Linked DNA regions of Homo sapiens: region 2 is linked to region 1. Evidence: promoter capture Hi-C in 16 types of primary human blood cells and fetal thymus (Javierre and others, 2016). All regions are on one chromosome and are shown on one strand. Each heading gives the region's core, a stretch centred on a gene start or on the middle of the fragment in contact. The rest is flanking DNA. Distances are from core to core; before and after follow the strand shown.

Region 1 (3,251 bases), core at 368-2,867:
AAATGAGAGGCTGCAAAACTGCGGGCACCGCCGCTTAATGGCTCTGTGACCTTGAGCAAGTTGTTTAACTTTGGTGGGATGCAGATATCTCATGTATACCTCATACGGTTGTCAAGTTAAACCAGTGAAGTACATGGAACGGTTTTAACACCTAACCACTACCTTAATGTTAGTTTCTAGGAAGGCTGAGGGGGGTTTTCTTGCTAAGTTGTGCAAAATTGGGATGCAATTTGTGGAAGAACACAGCCTCAATCCCACACCCCCGGAGGCCCGACCTAACGTCCTCCAACCTTGAAACCCTTGTAGTTCACCCCTTCTCATGTCCCAGACCAGGTCAGCCTTGCAACCCGTTGTTTCCCAACTAATTGTAGACCCACCTGAAAGCGAGTTCCGGCGAAGAGGCCCCCTGCGAATGAGGTGCAGTGCAGCACCTTAATTGAGGGGCTGAGCAGGGGTCAGCATCAAGGAAGGTGCTGGGAGGGCGGGGCACGGTGGCTCACAGCCTGTAATCTCAGCACAAAGGTGGGGGCAGGAGGATCGCTTAAGCCCAGGAGTTCTAGACCAGCCCTGGCAATATAGTGAGACGCCACCCCCTACAACCCGTCTCTATAAAAAGATTTTTAAAAAAGGGGCAAAGAGGAGGAGGTAAGTGGCATGGAATTCCACGGTTTTTTTTGTTTGTTTGTTTTGAGATGGAGTCTCGCTTTGTTGCCAGGCTGGAGTACAGTGGCGCGATCTCAGCTCACTGCAACCTCCCCCTCCCGGGTTCAAGCGATTCTCCTGCCTCAGCCTCCCGAGTAGCTGGGACTACACGCGTGCGCCAGCCACCATGCCCAACTAATTTTTGTATTTTTAATAGAGACAAGGTTGGCCAAGATGGTCTCGGATTTCTTGACCTCGTGATCCGCCCGCCTCGACCTCCCAAAGTGCTGGGATTACAGGCGTGAGCCACCGAGCCCGGCTGGTTTTTTTGTTTTTTTTTTTTGAGGTGGAGTTTCGCTCTTGGTGAGGCTTAAGTGGCACGATCTCGGCTTACTGCAACCTCCGCCTCCCGGGCTCAAGCAATTCTGCCTCAGCCTCTCGAGTAGCTGGGATTATAGGCGCCCGCCACCACGCCCGGCTAATTTTGTATTTTTAGTAGAAGCAGGGTTTCACCATATTGGCCAGGCTGGTCTCGAACTCCTGACCTCAAGTGATCCACCCACCTCAGCCTCCCAAAGTGCTGGGATTACAGGCGTGAGCCACTGCGCCCAGCCTGGAATTCCGTGATCTTGACGCTGGACTAGGGCAGTGGATGCGAGGGAGAGGGCTCCAATGTCGGGCCCTGGTTCGAGGAGAAGGTGCGGCTTTCACCCAACAGAAACCGGCCGTGAGGCTAAAAGCCAACTCCATGAGGGAAGGTCGGTCAAGCTCAATGGTTTCGTCACATTGCTCCCTCCACCCGCCGCGGGTGTAAGCTGCGCGTCTCCTTCGAATTGCCCCCTACTCGCCGCCGCCGGCTCCGCTGGCGTTCCCAGGGCGAGCGTAAGTTCCGGGTGCGGCGGCCGACTAGGCGCAACAGGAAGAGGCGGGGCCGCGAGGCTAGCGCTACCCGTGCGCCTGCGTGGAACGATTCTGTGGCGAGTGCCGGCCGAAAGCTAGGTCCGGATTGCACGTGGAGGGCCGCCCGAAGGGCACTCTCGGACATTAACCCGCATTCTGGTGGGTCTAGAGGAAATTGGGGGACGAAGAGTGGCAGCACTGACCTGGTCTGGGACGTGGGGAGAAGGGTGCGCTACCTGGGTTTCAGGTGGGAGGGCGTTCGGTCGGGCCTCCAGGGGGATAGCGGGGGTGCTTGAGTCGCGGGTGCTGAGTCGGGAGTGCTGAGTGAGTTGCGGGTGCTGAGTTGAGGCTGTGCCCTTTCCCACTATAATACGCCAAGCGTGCGTTCTGCCGTTCCCTCCGACACGCGCGACGCCACCTTCTCCCATTTCTGCCTGCCACAGTACCATGGGGCGCAAGTTGGACCCTACGAAGGAGAAGCGGGGGCCAGGCCGAAAGGCCCGGAAGCAGAAGGGTGCCGAGACAGAACTCGTCAGATTCTTGCCTGCAGGTAAGGATTAGTTGTGGCCTCCTGATCCCTCAGCTTTTGCAGTATTCTGTATTATAACCTCTTCTCTTTTTTAGTTTCTGTTCATTTTATATTTAAGTGGAATCTTCTCTGTATGAGTTACTAGGAGGTATGAATGAAACAGCCGTTTAGATTGTAGGGAACTGTTTAGGTCGTAGAGATGTGAAGACACGGACACAACTATTATTCATGCAAGGGAAAAGTGTGATTTAAAACAATTGTGAGTTCAGAGGAAGGGGGAGCCCATGCAGAACTGTAAAAGTTTTTGTTAAGCTGGGTTTTGAAAAATGGGTAACATTGTAGCAAGAGGAAGTAGTGAAGGGGAGGGGTCAGTCACTGATTTGCCTTTTGGAAGGGGTGGAAATGGAAAAGCACGGATCTGGCTGCTTCATGCCGAGTAGTAGTATACTGTGTGGAAGACTGGTGGGAGGTAACACTGGACCGGGAGTTTGTGTTGGGCATTGGATAAAGGATGCAGTTTATTGAGATAGTAGGAAGTCCTGGGCACTGTATTAAACTTGTTGGTCATGTTATATCGCTTAATCATCTTAGAGTCCTGTGAGAGAGGCACTATTAAGGAAACACTTTGGGAGGCCGAGGCAGGTGGATCACCTGAGGTCCAGTGTTCGAGACCAGCCTGGCCAACATGGTGAAACCCTGTCTTTACTAAAAATACAACAATTAGCTGGGTGTGGTGATGGGAGGCTGAGGCAATAGAATCGCTTGAATCTGGGAGAAGGAGGTTGCAGTGAGTTGAGATCACGCCATTGCACTCCAGCCTGGAAGACAAGAGTGAAACTCCATTTCAAAAAAAAAAAAGAAACTTGTATACAGTTATTAAATAATAACAGGGCTGAGATTTAAATGGACTCCTTTTAATTAGTGTACTAATTCTCTTACCATGTTTATTTCCGTTCCCATTTATTTTTAATGTCCCCTGTAACTTGTTCTGCCTCGTTTTTCTTTTTTAAACAGTAAGTGACGAAAATTCCAAGAGGCTGTCTAGTCGTGCTCGAAAGAGGTAAGTGTGGGTGTCAAAACTTAAGTAGGTTAAATTGGTACTGCTCATCTTTGACCACAGAGTTAATTCTAGACTCTCACATTTCCCTATGGTGGAAATGGCAGAGCCTGGAAGTATCTT
Region 2 (3,251 bases), core at 276-2,775, 210 kb after region 1:
GAGTGGGCTGGGGACTGGAGTCCTAGTCCCAGCTCTTGCTGGGACAAATCTCTTGATCCCTCAGTCTTCCCATCAGTGAAATGGGAGGGAAAGTCTTGCTCCTTCCACCCTAGGCAGGGGAGGTATAAATGAACCAAAACCGTGTGTGTGCAGCTACTGGTCTCCTTTCCTGGCCTGCAACTCCCTTAATCCCATGCTCCCCTGGTCCATGCTCCTAGGGACTTCTGCTTCTCTTCCACTTCTGTCTTTCCCCACTCCTGGCTTCCGACTCCTGTCCGTCAGTCCTCAGAACCCCAGATCACTCATTCTTTGCCCTTGGCCCTGCCAAGGGGCTTATCCCCGGCTGCGTGTCCCCTCTGACTCTAGTCTCTGTGTCCAGTGCAACCAGAACAAATCGGACTGCTTCTACCAGACATACTCATCAGGGGTGGATGCGGTGAGGGAGTGGTACCGCTTCCACTACATCAACATCCTGTCGAGGCTGCCAGAGACTCTGCCATCCCTGGAGGAGGACACGCTGGGCAACTTCATCTTCGCCTGCCGCTTCAACCAGGTCTCCTGCAACCAGGCGTGAGTCAGTCCTGCCTGGCTCCTTGCTCTCCGCGGGGTCCGCTTCCCTGGGTCAGCCTCACGCCCTGCATGGGCAGGGCCCAGGAAATGCTTGTTGACTAAAAAAATGCCAGTGCCAGCAGGCCAGGGGGAAGCACTGGCTTTGGGCCCACACCCTGCCCCAGAGAGCGCCCTACGAACTCCTGCTGCTCCCTGCACTGCTGGATCTGAGGGAAGTGGCCTCACAGGATGCCTTGGGAAGACTGGGGCTTTGAGAAACCAAAGGCTGGAAGCATGGATCTTGGTCTTTTTTGTTTTTCTTTTTTTTGAGATGGAGTTTTGCTCTTGTTGCTCAGGCTGGAGTGCAATGGCGCGATCTCGGCTGTCTGCAACCTTCACCTCCTGGGGTCAAGCAATTCTCCTGCCTCAGCCTCCTGAGTAGCTGGGATTACAGTCATGCGCCACCACGCCTGGCTAATTTTTTTATTTTTAGTAGAGACGTTGGTCAACGTCCATGTTGGTCAGGCTGGTCTCCAACTCCTGACCTCAGGTGATCTGCCTGCCTTGGCCTCCCAAAGTGCTGGGATTACAGGCGTGAGCCACCATGCCTGGCCAGGGTCTTGGTCTTTCTAAGGCCCCTTTCTCCCTAGCATCAAAGCTCAAAAGGGCCTAGGAGATCATCTGTCTCATACTCTGTTCCCTGAGCTGAGGCTGGCAGTAGTAGTGAGGTGGAGTGGCATGGGTTGAGGGACTAAACCTAAGTTCCCACTCTAGCTCTGTCACTTCCTGGCCAGGTGACTCTGGATGTATCACATCATCCTTCAGAGCCTATTTCTTAGATTGTAAAATGGAAGTAAAACAAAAAATGAGATTCATTCAGTGTTCGTTCAACAAATAGTTTTGACTATCTGGGCTATGTGCCAGTCACTGTTCTAGGCATTTGGACTACATCAAAGGAAAAACTATATAATCCATGCTCCTTTGGCACTTTTACTCAAGTGACGAAGATGATGACGATAACACTCATCTCAAGAGCTGTACCAAGTGTGTGAGATACAAACGTGAGGGCACTTTATAGACCACAGTAAATGATGGGTTTCATTACTCTTGTACTCAAACAGGTGAAGTGACTTGCCCTTGGGAATGGGCCGGCCCTGGCTAAGGATTCTTCCCACCCCACTACCCCTCGGGTATTCATTCTGTGAGGACCCCTGTTATAATGTCCTTGCAAGCAGCTCATAGCAGCTGCAGGTTCTCTGAGGGCTGGGAGAGGCTGAGGCGAGGGGGGGGTCCCCTTCTGTAACCTCTGGCCCCCTCCTCCCCTGCCTTCTCCTCCTGCTCGTTTATTTTCCGGAGCCATCTCCCTGCCTCTGCCTGGCTCCACTCTACAGGGGGCATTCCCTCCCCTGTTGCTGAAGAATGGCCACAGGGCAAGGTGTCACTTCTTACCCTTCACACACACTCTGCCCAGTACACGATTTTGTTCTGTTTTTAGTCTTTGCATTTGTTTGAGGACAGAAACTACCAGCTGGGAAGTAAGATGGTAGCAACACCTAAGCCTGAGTCCGCCCACACCTGTCACCAAGTTCCTCTAACTGTCACCTGGACACCTGTGCTTTCCCTATGCCCTCACCCGATGCCTCCCTTTGCTCTGTGTGCCTGCCTCCCCATCAACAGAAAGTCCATGGACACCTGTGCTTTCCCTATGCCCTCACCCGATGCCCTCCCTTTGCTCTGTGTGCCTGCCTCCCCCTCAACAGAAAGTCCATGGTTCATCTTTATCTTGGCACTTAGGCGCTTAGGTCAGCTCAGAGCCTCATTGCTCGCCTGGGTTGTTATACCCACCACTCCACCCTACTGCGTTCTTTTGCCTCCAAATCCTCCCTTCCTTCTGCAACTACAGGAACCTTTGTACTTCAACCTTACTTCACGTCACCACATGTAACTATTCCAGTTAGTCCTGTGTGTTAGTCCATTTTGTGTTGCTATAAAGGAATATCTCACCGGGCACGGTGGCTCATGCCTGTAATCCCAGCACTTTGGGAGACCGAGATGGGCGGATCACCTGAGGTCAGGAGTTAGAGATCAGCCTGGCCAACATGGCGAAACCCCATCTCTACTGGAAATATAAAAATTAGCCGGGTGTGGTGGCACACATCTGTGGCCCCAGCTACTCAGGAGGCTGAGGCAGGAGGATTGCTTGAACCCAAGAGGTGGAGGTTGCAGTGAGCCGAGATCGCACCACTGCACTCCAGCCTGGGCGACAGAGCAAGACTCCATCTGAAAAAAAAAAAAAAAAAAAAAAAAGGAATATCTGAGTCTGGGTAATTTATAAAGGAAAGAGGTTTAATTGGCTCAGGGTTCTGCAGATTGTACAAGCATGGCACCAGCATCTGCTCAGCTTCTGGGGAGGCCTCAGGAAACTTTTACTCATGGTAGAAGGGGAGGAGAGGGGGCAAGAGAGAGAGAGACCAGGCACTTTTAAACAACCAGCTATCGGGTGAACTAATTAATAGTGTGAGGATTCACTCATTACTGTGAGGAGGGCACCAAGCCATTCAAGAGGGACCCACCCCTGTGACCCAAACACCTCCCAGCTAGGATCACCTCCAACATGGGGGATCACATTTCAACATGAGACTTGGAGGGGACAAACATCCAAACTGTATCCTCCTGTTTAAAATCGTTCAGTGTCTCTCACG

Evidence for each region. Contacts are between HindIII fragments. The CHiCAGO score rates a contact against its expected background, and 5 or more counts as called.
Region 2: a contact is called between a fragment that was not itself captured here and the fragment with the promoter of NOP2 in region 1, in 6 of 17 cell types (total CD8 T cells, non-activated CD4 T cells, total CD4 T cells and 3 more). The highest score is 9.2, in total CD8 T cells.

Annotation. Positions count from the first base shown.
Region 1 is chr12:6,566,657-6,569,907 of GRCh38, reverse strand. NOP2 (NOP2 nucleolar protein) reads left to right here and starts at 1,617. Exons shown (of 16, transcript NM_001258308.2): 1 at 1,617-1,701; 2 at 1,986-2,092; 3 at 3,086-3,131. The coding sequence starts at 1,990. CHD4-AS1 (CHD4 antisense RNA 1) reads right to left here and starts at 1,537. Exons shown (of 3, transcript NR_199067.1): 1 at 378-1,537. RefSeq lists enhancers at 1,273-1,322, 1,146-1,767. The HindIII fragment of the contact is 18,468 bases long and covers 1-3,251 here.
Region 2 is chr12:6,359,370-6,362,620 of GRCh38, reverse strand. It overlaps SCNN1A (sodium channel epithelial 1 subunit alpha), which reads left to right. Exons shown (of 13, transcript NM_001038.6): 4 at 380-570. Among named protein-coding and RNA genes, the nearest start is that of SCNN1A, 15 kb to the left of the region's middle. RefSeq lists an enhancer at 1-520. The HindIII fragment of the contact is 4,287 bases long and covers 1-3,251 here.